5 separate regions of the Homo sapiens genome follow, and regions 1, 2, 3 and 4 are each linked to region 5. Evidence: promoter capture Hi-C in human tissues and cell types (Jung and others, 2019). All regions are on one chromosome and are shown on one strand. The core of a region is centred on a gene start or on the middle of the fragment in contact, and the rest is flanking DNA. Distances in the headings are between cores, read along the strand shown. Region 1 holds the start of POLR2E (RNA polymerase II, I and III subunit E). Region 2 overlaps SBNO2 (strawberry notch homolog 2). Region 3 holds the start of CDC34 (cell division cycle 34, ubiquitin conjugating enzyme). Region 4 overlaps TPGS1 (tubulin polyglutamylase complex subunit 1). Region 5 holds the start of PTBP1 (polypyrimidine tract binding protein 1).

Region 1 (2,700 bases), core at 1-2,500, 300 kb after region 5:
CGGCCAAAGCTCGTGACCCGGAAGTCAGACCTGCGGCTGCTGCAGAGGACAGAGGTGAACAGCAAACGGGATGAACACTCACTGTGTGCTCCATGACAGCCACCCCGGCCCCCACAGCCTCACACCACAGGATGGGACCAGTATGATCCTGAGAGGCTCCCAGAGATGTCCAGCCTTGACCAAGACCGTCTGTCCACCCAGCCTCACAGAAACCTGGCAGGGAGCAAAGCCCTCCAAACCACTTTGCAGAGCTACCCTAAAGGCAGGGACAAAGGCGGGGCGCGGAGGCTCACGCCCGTGATCCCAGTACTTAGGGAGGCTGAGGCAGGAGGGTTGCTGGAGGCCAGTTCAAGGATGCAGTGAGCTATGATTGCACCACTGCACTGCAGCCTGGGCGACAGAATGAAACCCTATCTCTTAAAAAAAAAAAATGACAGGGACCGAAACAGATGTGACTTCAGGCTGACAATGTTTGAGGATCGGAGAAAGAAGAATCAGGCTGCGGGGGGCTTCGCTGAGGACAAGGGCAAAGGGTGGGAAGCAAGACAAAGCAAAAGCTCTCAAACGGCCCCAATGGCTGAGGCAATACCCTGAACCGCAGGTCCTCAGGCCTGTGCCCGGCTTCCAAACCGGACTCGACCCAGTGGCCTCCATCTGCCCCAGACCCCAAGGCACGGGTTCCGAGCTCCACGTCCCCATCGAAAGCCCCAGCTCGCCCGCTGCTTCCCAACCACCAACTCTGCCAGCCTCGGATGCTGAAGACTCCATGGGGTTCAGGACGCAAGGACAAATAGCGACGCTGAATCACAGAGAAGGGCAGAGTCTGGGGGCGCCCCCCGTCCCCATTCGCGGCTTCCTCCTCCTCTCGCCGCCACGCGCGCCGCACCAGCCCAAGCCGCCCACCCACCCCTAAGCACCGCACCCAGACGTCTCGAAACCCCCTCCCTTCCCCGCTGCCGGCTCAGGTCGGGTCCAGCGCCTGGTATCCCCGGCGACCTCTGGGCCTCCCGTATCGGCCCGGCCCTTCATCGCTGCTGCTCCGACGAGAGTACGAGGAGACGCCGTGCTCGACCCCACCTCGGGCCCCTACACCCGCCGCCCGCGCCCCCGCCCCCAACACCAGGCGCGGCTCACCTGCATGATGGTCTTGCGGATTTTCCAGAGCCGGTACGTCTCCTCCTCGTCGTCCATGGCAGCCTCCGCCGCCGCCGCCGCTCGCACCCCTTCTCCGCGCGAGAACCCGCGCGGACTGCGCCTGCGCCGAATCCGAATCAGGCCCCCTCCGCCTAACCCCGCCCCGCGCTGGTCTGTCGTCGGCGAATGCCTGAATGCAGCAACGTCTCGGATCGGCAGCGCCAAGGGCAGCCCGAGCCTTACGAGAGCGGCAGTTGGCTGAGCGAGTCTCTCGCCTCCGTAGTTCTCGTGTGTCTTTGGCCGCACAGCCTCTCGGGAGTTGTAGTTTCCGTTCAACTCCCACCTTGGAGCAACAGTTTAGAATCCCACGAGGCGGGGGCGAAGTGTGAGCGGGGAAACTGAGGCCTGGATGGGGTCAAGGGGCAGCTCGGCTCCTAGGGATGGTCTGGGAGCCTAGTGGGAACTCTATAAATATTTGTGCATCAAACTGTACAGGGTTTCCTCCATTGGCTCCTGGCCAGGTCAGGGTTAATTCCCTTGGGCCTCAGTTTCCCTACCTGTGCAATGGCAATAAAGTGTCCCTACTTTAGACGGTTAACTGAGAGTCTTAGGCATCTCTCTAGGTGCTTATTAAGTCCCCTCACCTCTGTCCTCTCCCCTGAGCGCCACCAGCCTAGCCTGGGTATCTCCCCAGCCTAGCCTGGGTATCTCCCCACCCCAGACTCTTCCTGTCTTTGCAAACCTCCTCACTTCCCCAGGTTCACGGAGAACCCCAGCCCAACACTTCCTGTGTGCAGGCTATCAGTAACTTATTCAGTGATGCATTCGTTAATTCAACATTTACTCAGCAACCTACAGTGATGGTGAATAAAACAGGCCAAGTATCCCTTGCATTCAGATAAAGACAGGATTTAGTAAAATATAATAAATAACGTGGCCGGGCGCGGTGGCTCATGCCTATAATCCCAGCACTTTGGGAGGCTGAGGCGGGCAGAGCATGAGATCAGGAGTTCAAGACCATCCTGGCTAACACGGTGAAACCCCGTCTCTACTAAAAATACAAAAAATTAGCTGGGCCAGGTGGCAGGTGCCTGTAGTCTCAGCTACTTAGGAGGCTAAGGCAGGAGAATCTCGTGAACCTGTAAGGTGGAGGTTTCAGTGAGCCAAGATCGTGCCACTGCACTCCAGCCTGGACAACAGAGCAAGACTCTGTCTCAAAAATAAAATGAAATGAAATAAAATAAAATAAATAACAACGTTAGAAAGTGACAAAGCTACGGAAGAAGAAAGAGCAGGGAGGCTAAGTGACATGGGGAGAATGGGAGAACTGCAGTATCACATGGGGAGGTCAGGGAATACAGTGAGGATAGATTCAAGCAAAAATCCCATTAGCAGTGGTGGCTCATCACTGTAATCCCAGCACTTTGGGTGGCCGAGGCAGGCAGAGCATGAGATCAGGAGTTCCAGACCAGCTTGGCCAACATGGTGAAACCCTGTCTCTACTAAAAATACAAAAATTAGCCAGGTTTGGTGGTGGGTGCCTGTACTCCCAGTTACTCGGGAGGC
Region 2 (2,784 bases), core at 189-2,688, 320 kb after region 5:
CACTCGTCGAACACGATCTGAGGCACACGTGGGTTAAGGAGTATTCTGAAGGACGGGGGCGACCCCAGGAGCCCAGGTCCTGACCACCCAAGACCCCACCTTCCTGGTGGGGGGCAAACGCCTGTGCGGCTGAGAACTCCACGAGGGAAGCCCAGGTCGGAGTGGCAGCCGGCTACCATGGGGGGCGGGCGGGCAGGCGGCCCCCACACGACCATTAGATGGGTGTGGCCTGGGATGGCTCCTCCCAGACTCTAAACAACACACACCGAGGATGGGGCCTCCGGCGAGGAAGGGTGGGATCCCTAAACCATGATATCGCAGGACGTTGCCATCGGAGGAGGATACCTGGAACCTGTTTTCTTTTTTGTTTGTTTTTTTGAGACAGGGTCTTGCTCTGTCACCCACGCTGGAGTGCAGTGATACAATGTCAGCTCACTGCAACCTCTGCCTCTCAGATTCAAGTGATTCTCCTGCTTCAGCCTCCCAAGGAGCTGGGACTACAGGTGTGTGCCACCACCACAACCGGCTAATTTTTGTAGTTTTGGTAGAGACGGGGTTGGCCGTTTGGTTGGCCAGATAATCTCAAACTCCTGACCTCAAGTGACCTGCCTGCCTCAGCCTCCCAAAGTGCTGGGATTACAGGTGTGAGCCGTGCCCAGCCCTAATTCTTTGTTTTTTTTTGAGACGAAGTCTCGCTCTGTCACTAGGCTGGAATGCAGCGGCGCGATCTCAGCTCACTGCAACCTCCGACTCCCTGGTTCAAGCGATTCTCCTGCCTCAGCCTCCTGAGTAGCTGGGATTACAAGTGTGCGCCACCACGCCCGGGTAATTTTTGTATTTTCAGTAGAGACGGGGTTTCACCATATTGGTCAAGACAGTCTGGAACTCTTTTTTTTTTTAGATGAGACACAGTCTCGCTCTGTCGCCTGGGCTGGAGAGCAGTGGGGCAATCTCGGCTCACTGCCACCTCTGCCTCCTGGGTTCAAGCGATTCTCCTGCCTCAGCCTCCCGGGTAGCTGGGATTACAGGTGCGCACCACCACGCCCAGCTAACTTTTGTATTTTTAGTACAGACGTGGTTTCACCATGTTGTCCAGGTGGTCTCGAACTCCTGACCTCGTGATTCGCCTGCCTCGGCCTCCCAAAGTGCTGGGATTACAAGCGTGAGCCACTGCACCCGGCCAGGTTCTTAATATTTTAAGACGAAAGAAAGCCAAGTTCCAGGAAAGCAGTCTGAGGAAGGAAAACTGGGAGAATACAAATTAAACGGCCGGCCCTGCCGCCACGTAGCAGCTCAGCGAGGTATGATCTCAGGGTTATCGCTATTTCGTAGATTGTTGCACATAGATTGTTCAGCCGGGTGCGAAGACACCAGCAGTCTCCCGTTCTGTTTCTGGCCAGTCTGAATGTTCTGTGTCTCGGCGTTAACTGAACAGCAAAGCCATGGCCATGTCCTGTGCATGAAGTGGATGCTGCAGGCCAACGTCCCTCCCTTATCTGAGCCTGTGCTCCCAACACCCCAACACCCAAGGTGCACCCTGCAGGGCCGAGCACCAGGGCTGAGCCTGGCCAAGGGGTGCCCTGCCGTGCCTTTGCTGCTAACTGTCCTGGGTCTCCTGTGGGGGAGCCCCTCCGAACCGCAGCCTGCCGACGAGAGCCCTGGGATGCTGGGGAGTGAACTGTGCCCACCACACTATCAGCTGGGGTTGGCACCTTCCTGACTTGGGGAGCAGCTCAGTGGCCACCCTCTGCCCACGGCATCATGGCAAACATCAGGACCACATCTATGGTCACTCATCCCACTTATCAGAACCAAGAAACCAAGCCGGAGCCCTGTGGTGAATGATGATGGTCACTTGTGTGGTACCCACAGGGCCAGCCTCCCAGGACCAGAAAAGTCTTCTATCCGGAGTCCTAAACCCTGAGCAAAGCTGGGGGCTGGGTGGCCACATCCAGGGTAGTGAGCTCCAGTGGCCTCCAGCCCTTCCCCAGCCCCACCCCTCCGCTCCTACCCTCTCCCATCCTGCCCTCCTCTCCCCTGACTCCCACCCCTCCTCTCCCACTCCTCCATCCTCCTTTTCCCTCCGACCCCCTAATCCAGCCCTCCCCTCCCGATTGCCCCCAGCAGGATACGACGCCCTCGAAGGCCTCCCCACACCAGTCCAGGATCTGCCGGAGGCGAGTGCGGTGCTGGCCGCCGGCCTGGCTCTCCCCAATCAGGGCGGAGTAGGTGGCGAAGAGGACGCCCTCTGAGGTAGTGGTGTCACCGTACTTGATCTGGGGATGCACAGAACAGGTGTGGAATGGGGCCCCGGCTCAGCAGGCTCTGGACCTGGGTCTCCCTATCTGTAAGGGTGCTGGGCAGAGCCTGCCCTGGCTGCTGGCCCACCCAGCTGAGCAGCCCCCACTTTGCAGGGCACGGTCCCCACCTTGCCCCCTACTTTGCCGAGCACAGCCCCTACCTTGCTGAGCGCGTGCACCGCGATGCCCGTGGCTTCGATGTCCCGCAGGTCGCGCTCCGCATCGTACTTGAGGTCGTTGGAGACGCTGAACCTGCGGGGTGGGGGCGTCAGGCGCGCCCACCCTTCCCCCTCGCCCCCCGCTTCCGCCCCCCACCCCCGCTCCCGCCCCCTGCCCCAGGCAGGGCCTCACCACAATGCTTTCTTCCGGCCGCGCAGGTGGTTCTCCAGGATGACTCCGGCCACCGTCCGGCCTTTGCCCACGCCGGCCCCATCGCCGATGAGAAAGCCCGCGCGCTGCCCGCTGGGGAGCAGGACCTCGTGTT
Region 3 (2,792 bases), core at 3-2,502, 270 kb before region 5:
GGCTCATGCCTATAATCCCAGCATTTGGGAGGCCGACGCAGACGGATCCCTTTATTAGTCCAAACTGCATCCTCCCCTTCCTTTCAAAACCTAACAACACACTTGAGGTCAGGGGTTCGAGACCAGCCTGGCCAACATGGTGAAACCCCATCTCTACTTAAAATACAAAATTAGCCGGACGTGGTGGCGGGCACCTGTAATCTCAGCTACTCGGGAGGCTGAGGCGGACACTAGCTTGAACCCGGGAGGCGGAGGTTGCAGTGAGATTGTGCCACTGCACTCCAGCCTGGGCCACAGAACGAGACTCTGTCTCATTTAAAAAAAAAAAAAAAAAAAAGACTCGGGTAGGACAAAGGTCAGGCTGGGAGGAGGGCACAGCCAGGCTCGGGCTCAGCTTGGGGTGGGGGCTCCGTGGGGCTGGCGCCTCTCCCGGGTCAGGTGCTGAGCCGATGCTGGCCGGCGTAGGCCTCTTTCCCAGTTTCTCTGGGGGGCAGGAGCACCTTGCCAACCTCTGATGGCTCCAGCGCCTGCACTCGCCTCACACCACATGGTGACTTCAACGGGGACCAGGGAAGCCCTCGCCCCTCCCACCCCTCAGAGCCCTCCCCGACCTCGCCCACTTCTCAGAGCTCCCGCTGTCGGGGGAACCGAGGCAGCGCCGCGCCTGGAAGCCAGGTCTGCGGATCCCGCCTCGCTCCCGCCCCTTCCTCCCTTCCGCGTGGCCAGCGCGACCCTAGGACAGACTTCGCGCCCGTCCCCTGCACAGACGGGGAAACGGAGACGGGGACGCGGGGTCGCGCCGGATGGACCGGCCCTGCCCCTCCGGTCCCGGTCAGGACCCCGCGCCGCGCCCCGTTCACCGCCCGCGGCCCCGCCCCGCGCCGGCACGTCACAAAACAACCCCAAAGCCGGGGGACCGGGCCGGTGACGGCGCAGAGCAGCCCTGCCCGCCTCCTTGCGCACAGCGTCCGCGGTGCTGGTCGAGCAGGGGGCGACGGCGGCGGCCTCGGGGATCGGAAGAGCCCGGGGCTGCGCGCTCGAACCCTCCCTCCCGGCGGAGGCGCTCGGCGCCGTAGGCGGGACCGGGGCCGGGACTCCACCTCCCGGCGTCCCCTGCGGCCGGGCGCGCAGGCGCAAGTCGGACCTGGCCGCGGAGCGCAGGCGCAGTCGGGGCCAGGCGGTGCGCGCAGGCGCAGCGGGGGGCGGGGCGCGCGGGCCCGGCCAAGGCAAGCGCCGGTGGGGCGGCGGCGCCAGAGCTGCTGGAGCGCTCGGGGTCCCCGGGCGGCGGCGGCGGCGCAGAGGAGGAGGCAGGCGGCGGCCCCGGTGGCTCCCCCCCGGACGGTGCGCGGCCCGGCCCGTCTCGCGAACTCGCGGTGGTCGCGCGGCCCCGCGCTGCTCCGACCCCGGGCCCCTCCGCCGCCGCCATGGCTCGGCCGCTAGTGCCCAGCTCGCAGAAGGCGCTGCTGCTGGAGCTCAAGGGGCTGCAGGAAGAGCCGGTCGAGGGATTCCGCGTGACACTGGTGGACGAGGGCGATCTATACAACTGGGAGGTGGCCATCTTCGGGCCCCCCAACACCTACTACGAGGGCGGCTACTTCAAGGTGAGCGCGGCGACCCCCGCCCGGGTCCCGGAGCCCACGAGCGACCTCGGGCGCCGGGAACCAGCTCCCTGCCCCGCGGTCCTAGCGCTGTTGCTGGGCGGGCCCCGAAGCCTCCTGGCTTGGGCTCGTTTCCCTTCTATGGCCACGTTCCCCCACCCAGCTCTGCCCGGCCCCCTCCTCGGACCGTCTCGGGGACCTTCAGCCTCTGCTGCAGTCCTCGAAAATCCCCAGTTCCCTTCAAGGCATCGTCCGGTCCCCTGTTAGGCTCTTGGCCCCCGGAGGGGTGGCCGGGGGCCCTCCCTGTAGCATCTGGGCGTGGGGCTCTTGCCCACCTCCTCCTTGGCGGGGGCTGGACCCCGGCTGCCTCCCCCTCCGCCCCTGCGAGAAAGAGGGAGCGGAGCCCAGGCCGCGCCGGCCTTTCAGCTGCCCTCCCCGCCCTCCCCGGAGGAGACAAAGAGGCCCCCCCAGACCCCGTAGCTGCTATTGTTGGGGAGCTGGGCCCGTGAGCGGGGGAGCGAGGCCAGCCTGGGGGTGGCTGGCGCGGCCACTCGCTCAGTCTCCAACAAAGGCCCGGATGAGCCTTGGCAGCCAGGACCCGCCTGGAAAGCGGCCACCCTTGCCAGTAGCAGCCGGCCAGGCGCCCTGGGCTCCATCCCCTGCTTTATGTAACCTGCGCCCTCGGGAAGGCCGAAGTAGGGGCGTGCCTCCCACCTGCTCCCTGCAGCTCTCTCCAGGCCTCCCGGCTCGGGCCCGCGTCCCGGACCCCGACCTCAGAAGCTCCGGGCTCGCTCATCCCAGCTGGTCTTGGCCTTTCTCAGAGTCCACTGAACAGGTGGCTTCTTGGGACCCAAACCCCGAGTTCTGGGCCGTTTCTTCTGCCCTCTGGCGGTTTAATTCCAAGCAGTTTCTGGATGTTTTTGTTGTTGTTGGGAGCGGGGAGGCTGTTTCTGTCTCATGTGAAAAGGACTCAGGCCAAAACCAGGGCAGTTTTCTTGATCTCACGATCCAGACGTGACCTTTGACTTCTTTTAGCGTTCAGGGACCTCGTTCTTGGGGCCAGAGGGACAAAGCGAGGGGCCCTGTGTGAGCGGTGGGGAACGAGCACCCTGTCCAGGAATCTCCCCCTCCCACCGTCACTTCCTGCCAAGAGCCTGGACACGACACGACACTGCAGGGCCCGGCCCGCTCTGC
Region 4 (2,857 bases), core at 314-2,813, 280 kb before region 5:
GCGGCAGCAGCCTGCCCGGCCTCACAGCAGATCCTGATGAGAGGGGCCCCGGTGCGGCTCCTGCTGGGTCATGCGGAGAGGTCAGGCGTGATGGGAGCTCGGGCCGCCGCGCTGACACTGCGACTGCCCCCAGCGCATTTTGGGGATGACCTCATGGATGGTAAAAGCGCCCAGCGGATTATAAGGGCCAACAAATGGGGCCTTTACTACTTGGGAGGGAAAAGGAGCGTACAGCCAGATGGGCCTAGAGTTGAATTGCAGGTCGCTGCCCTCCTGCCTCTGGGCCTCAGTTTCCTCCTCCATAGCAGAGCTTTGACCCTCGAGCTCGCTGAGATGGCACGTCCATCCCTAAGCCCTGAACTGAGCAGCAGTGATGACCAGGGAGGCACGTGTTCACCAGGCACCCACCGTGCACCGGCCCAGCATTACTGAGCACCTACTGTGCACCCGCCCAGCATTTACTGAGCACCTACTGCATGCCGGCCCTGCATTACTGAACACCTACTGCACACCAGCCCAGCATTACTGAGCACCTACTGCATACTGGCCCTGCATTACTGAGTACCTACTGCACACCAGCCCAGCATTACTGAGTACCTACTGCACACCAGCCCAGCATTACTGAGTACCTACTGCACACCAGCCCAGCATTACTGAGTACCTACTGCACACCAGCCCCACATTTACTGAGCACCTACTGCACACTGGCCCCACATTTACTGAGCACCTATTGCATCCTGGCCCAGCATTTAGTGAGCACCCACTGCACACAACCCCAGCATTACTGAGCACCTACTGTGCACTAGTCCTGCATTACTGAGCACCTGCTGCACACCAACCTGCCCCGGCCCCACATTTACTGAGCACCTATTGCATGCTGGCCCAGCATTTACTGAGCACCCACTGTACACAGACCCAGCATTACTGAGCACCCACTGCACACTGGCCCCACATTTGCTGAGCACCTACTATGTACCAGCCCTGCATTCACTAAGCACCTACTGTACACCAGCCCTGTATTACTGAGCACCCACTGCACACTGACCCTACATTTACTGAGCACCTATTGCATGCTGGCCCAGCATTTACTTCACTCCCACTGCACACCGCCCCAGCATTACTGAGTACCTACCGTGTACTGGCCCTGCATTCACTGAGCACCTACTCTACACCGGCCCTGTATTACTGAGCACCCACTGCACACCGACCCCACGTTTACTAAGCACCTATTGCTTACTGGCCCAGCATTTACTGAGCACCCACTGCACACCGCCCCAGCATTACTGAGTACCTATTGCACACCAGCCCCACATTTACTGAGCACCTATTGCATTCTGGCCCAGCATCACTGAGCACCTACTGTGTACCAGCCCTGCATTACTGAGCACCTGCTGCACACCAACCCTGCATTTACTGAGCACCTACTGCATGCTGGCTTAGCACTTCCCCGGCACCTACCACAGGTGGCCCACAGAAAGGTGAAGTCGTGTGCCCAGGTCATGCCGGAGGGAAGGCTGCCCTCCTCACCATGAAGCTGAGCTCCCAGAAGGGAAAAGCGTAAGCCCTGAGGTTGGCCACTTCCTCTCTGGGACCCTTGGCCAGACCATGGGGCTGCCCTGAGCCTCAGTTTCCCTATATGTCCCAGAGGAAGTAACAGGCCACTAGCATGAGGCCTGGCCGGGAACTGATGGGGGGAGTGAGGCCAGGGGGTTAAGCAGCCCACCCAGGGTCCTGCAGCGGCCCCCACGCTGGCCACGGTGCTCCCTGGCCACTCCCTGGTGCCCTCCACGGGAGTGTGTGTCACACTACCAGCACACGAGTGGCACGTAGTAAGGCCTCAGGCTCCTCACTGGGGCAGGGAATCGAACCCACCCCAGAGCCGGCAGCAGGGCTGACAGCCTTCTTCTGTAAGGGGCCAGATAGTGAACATTTCAGCTTTGCGTGGCAGCCTCCATCCTGACATTCAGCTCTACGGTTCTGGTCGGAAGCTGCCACAGGCCACATGTCAGCGGACTGATGTGGTTATGTTCCGATAAAGCTTTATTTACAAAAGCAGGCAGCAGGTCGTATTTGACCCTCAGGCTGACTGTGGGGCCTTGCCTGTGGGATTGTGGGGAGAGAAATACCACCACTGGCCCCGAGCAGCAACTGTCACCTGTAATCCCAGCAGTTTGGGAGGCTGAGGCAGGAGGATCGCTTGAGCCCAGGAGGTGGAGGCTGCTGTGAGCCCTGATTGTACCACTGCTCTCCAGCCTGCACAACACAGTGAGACCCTGTCTCAAAAAAAAAAAAAAAAGAAAAAATGCAATGTCAGCTGTGTTAAATGTTCAGCACAGACTGGGCGCAGTGGCTCACACCTGTAATCCCAGCACTTTGGGAGGCCGAGGTGGGCGGACCACGAGGTCACTCGAGATCCAGACCATCCTGGCCGACATGGTGAAACCCCGTCTCTACTAAAAATACAAAAATTAGCTGGGTGTGGTAACACACGCCTGTAATCCCAGCAGCTCAGGAGGCTGAGGCAGGAGAATCGCTTGAACCCGGGAGGTGGAGGTTGCTGTGAGCTGAGATTGTGCCACTGCACTCCAGCCTGACAACAGAGTGAGACACTGTCTCAAAAAAAGAAAGAGGGCCGGGCGCGGTGGCTCACGCCTGTAATCCCAGCACTTTGGGAGGCCGAGGCGGGTGGATCACGAGGTCAGGAGATCGAGACCATCCCGGCTAAAACGGTGAAACCCCGTCTCTACTAAAAATACAAAAAATTAGCCGGGCATAGTGGCGGACGCCTGTAGTCCCAGCTACTTGGGAGGCTGAGGCAGGAGAATGGCGTGAACCCGGGAGGCGGAGCTTGCAGTGA
Region 5 (2,700 bases), core at 125-2,624:
TTCCCCACCTGTAGGCGGGCGGCCTTGGATTGTATGGAGCCCGGGCCTCAGTTTCTCCAGCTGTAGGCGGATGGCCGTGGACTGTGTGTGGCCTGGGCCTCAGTTTCCCCCGCTGTAGGCAGATGGCCGTGGACTGTGTGTGGCTTTGGCCTCAGTTTCCCCAGCTGTAGGCGGATGGCCGTGGACTGTGTGTGGCCCGGACCTCAGCTTCCCCAGCTTTAGGCGGTTGGCCGCGGACTGTGCAAAGTCCAGGCCTCAGTTTCCCCAGCTGTAAGCGGGCGGCCGCCCACTGTACAAGGTCCAGGCCTCAGTTTCCCCAGCTGTAGGTGAGAGGCCGCGGACTGTACAAGGTCCAGGCCTCAGTTTCCCCAGCTGTAGGCGGGCGGCCAAGGACTGCAAGGTCCAGGCCTCAGTTTCCCCACCTGTAGGCGGGCGGCCGCGGACTGTACAAGGTCCAGGCCTCAGTTTCCCCAGCTGTAGGTGAGAGGCCGCGGACTGTACAAGGTCCAGGCCTCAGTTTCCCCAGCTGTAGGCGGGCGGCCGCCTACTGTATAAGGTCCAGGCCTCAGTTTCCCCAGCTGTAGGCGGGCGGCCGCGGACTGTACAAGGTCCAGGCCTCAGTTTTCCCAGCTGTAGGCAGCCGGCCGCGGACTGTGCGGGGCCCGGACCTCAGTTTCCCTATCTCCGCAGTCGGGATTCGCTGTTCCGGGGCGAACAAAGAACGGTCGGGGGTGACCCCGGATCATGGCGCGCCCGCAGTATCTGTGGCCACTGTGGAAACAGCCCTGGCGTGTCCGGGACGCGACGCGGCCTTTCCCTCCCCGCGCGATCACCCAGATGTGAGCGCTCAGTTTGAATCGGACTTTTTGGCCATGTGCCCACAACCAACATGGAGCCCTGAGGGTTTCCTGCCCGACTCCAAGATGGCGATGCGACTCCCTTTGCCCTCACGGCCCAGGCGGGCGGGTCCTGCCCACTTGCAAGATGGCGGCAGCCTGGGCAAAGCACGCTTCCCGCCGCCTGACTCGCCACGTACCCACTCTCAAGATGGCGTCTCCCGCAAAGCCACGCGCCAGCTGACTGGCTCAGACGCCGTCACGTGATCCCATTTTCTCCCCCTCCCCCGACTACACAAGCCGTTTCCGCCTTCGGCCTTGAGGAATAACCGCCTCCCCCAATAGGCGCCTGCGATTTCTCTGGGTCCCGCCCCCGGGCGGCCTTCTGGCCAGTGGGAGGTGCTGGCGGGGGCCCGCGGGGCTCTCCCCGCCCCCTGGCTGCAGCGGGAGCCAATGGGCAGCGCGCGCGGGGGACGTGTGCGGGCGTCTCCGCCATTTTGTGAGTCTATAACTCGGAGCCGTTGGGTCGGTTCCTGCTATTCCGGCGCCTCCACTCCGTCCCCCGCGGGTCTGCTCTGTGTGCCATGGACGGGTGAGTCGCACGTCGCCCCGCGCCCCACCGCCCTCCCCGCGCCGCAGCCCTGCCCCCGCCGCCGCGCCGGCCTCCCCGGGGCCGATCTCGCCCCCTCTCGGGCGGGAGGGGGCGGCGGGCTCTCCCCTTCCTCTCCGCGTGGCGGGCGCGGGTGCGGGGCGGGTCAGGGGCTTCCCGGGGGTCTGGCCGCGTCCCCATCCCCCGTCCGGCCCGCTTCCGGCCCCCGCGCGCCCCGTCCCTAGCGCACGCGGCCTCCCGCGCCCCTCCCCCTCCGCGCGCGTCCCCGCACTTCGCCTTTGCCCCGCCTCGGCGGCGCGCGGCCCTTCCCGCTTCCCGTCCGGCCCTCGCGCGCCCGGATGGCCCTTCCCGCCTCCCGTCCGCTCCCCTCGTGCGCCTGCGTAGCCCGTCGCGCGTCCCCGTTGGCCCCAGCGCGCGTGCGCGGCCGCCATCGGGGGCGCGCGCCTTTCCCGCCGCCCGGACTCTGCCCCCGGCGCAGCCCCGGAAGCGCAGGCGGGGCTGGGGCGGCCGCCGGGAGGGAAAGCTGGCGCCGGGGCCTCGCCGCGGGCCCGAGTCTCTGCGCTCCCCGCCCTACCCCTGCCCCCCGTGCGCCCCGGGCCGCGGCCAAGGGGTTTCGGTGATCTCGGGAGAGAAGCGGCCGCCCCGAGGGTCTGTCCTCCGCCCCGGGGCCGGAGGGGCCTCTCCAGGGACCCCCGCGGGCGCCGTCATGGGGAGGGGCCTTCCCGGCTCTCGGGCCGGGGCAGCCTTTCCGGGCGGCTTTGCTGGGCGGGCTTCCCTTGGGAGAGGTGGGAGCCCCCTCCAGAAAGGCCGTGTCCCGCCGAGCGCTTCCTGCGCGAGGCCCTCCCTGGGAATAGGAAGCGGGAGAGGCTGGAGATGTTTCGCATTCTTTCCGTTTTCCTGAGAAGTTTTTCTTGGGTTCAGTCACTTTTAAAAGTCTGTTAAACGTGGTCCGTGCAGTCTGTGGTGTCAGAAGAGGCGCAGCCCTAGAGTGGGTCTGGACCCCTTAGCATGCGTGCGGGCAGGTGGGTCCTGCAGACGGCGAGACGAGGGCTCCCCGCTCTCGGACCCAGCACCGCGGGCTCGGGGGCCGCGCACTCGCCTCCCGGAGTGAGGCAGGAGGCCCGGAGGCTGCCCTTCCGACGGACGCTCCGAGTCACTTAGGGCCTCGCCGGGAGTTGCAGTGGCCGGGAGAAGCCGTGGGGAGCTCACTGTTGGGTCAGGACCTGGCCGGGGCTGAAGGGAGGGCCTCGGACA

What was found. The method cuts DNA at HindIII sites, captures the fragments that hold promoters and counts their contacts. A contact is called where the count stands out against the background at its distance.
Region 1: the fragment with the promoter of POLR2E here is called in contact with the fragment with the promoter of PTBP1 in region 5 in 1 of the 25 tissues and cell types used here (dorsolateral prefrontal cortex).
Region 2: a fragment that was not itself captured here is called in contact with the fragment with the promoter of PTBP1 in region 5 in 1 of the 25 tissues and cell types used here (dorsolateral prefrontal cortex).
Region 3: the fragment with the promoter of CDC34 here is called in contact with the fragment with the promoter of PTBP1 in region 5 in 1 of the 25 tissues and cell types used here (aorta).
Region 4: a fragment that was not itself captured here is called in contact with the fragment with the promoter of PTBP1 in region 5 in 1 of the 25 tissues and cell types used here (dorsolateral prefrontal cortex).

What each region holds. Positions count from the first base shown.
Region 1 is chr19:1,094,125-1,096,824 of GRCh38, forward strand. POLR2E (RNA polymerase II, I and III subunit E) reads right to left here and starts at 1,251. Exons shown (of 8, transcript NM_002695.5): 1 at 1,135-1,251. The coding sequence starts at 1,191. RefSeq lists enhancers at 1-437, 1,195-1,284. The HindIII fragment of the contact is 36,385 bases long and covers 1-2,700 here.
Region 2 is chr19:1,120,007-1,122,790 of GRCh38, forward strand. SBNO2 (strawberry notch homolog 2) reads right to left here. Exons shown (of 32, transcript NM_014963.3): 9 at 2,652-2,784; 10 at 2,462-2,552; 11 at 2,133-2,276; 12 at 1-17. Among named protein-coding and RNA genes, the nearest start is that of GPX4, 17 kb to the left of the region's middle. RefSeq lists an enhancer at 2,333-2,784. The HindIII fragment of the contact is 7,332 bases long and covers 1-2,784 here.
Region 3 is chr19:530,508-533,299 of GRCh38, forward strand. CDC34 (cell division cycle 34, ubiquitin conjugating enzyme) reads left to right here and starts at 1,253. Exons shown (of 5, transcript NM_004359.2): 1 at 1,253-1,601. The coding sequence starts at 1,425. RefSeq lists silencers at 758-1,497, 1,918-2,087 and enhancers at 1,294-1,950, 2,348-2,397, 2,468-2,627. The HindIII fragment of the contact is 13,520 bases long and covers 1-2,792 here.
Region 4 is chr19:513,121-515,977 of GRCh38, forward strand. All of the region lies in intron 1 of TPGS1 (tubulin polyglutamylase complex subunit 1), which reads left to right. Among named protein-coding and RNA genes, the nearest start is that of MADCAM1-AS1, 6.7 kb to the left of the region's middle. The HindIII fragment of the contact is 7,591 bases long and covers 1-2,857 here.
Region 5 is chr19:796,078-798,777 of GRCh38, forward strand. It overlaps PTBP1 (polypyrimidine tract binding protein 1), which reads left to right and starts at 1,375. Exons shown (of 15, transcript NM_002819.5): 1 at 1,375-1,428. The coding sequence starts at 1,421. RefSeq lists enhancers at 494-1,129, 782-1,121, 1,328-2,213, 2,214-2,700 and silencers at 1,034-1,388, 1,152-1,501, 1,512-1,691, 1,762-2,071. The HindIII fragment of the contact is 37,831 bases long and covers 1-2,700 here.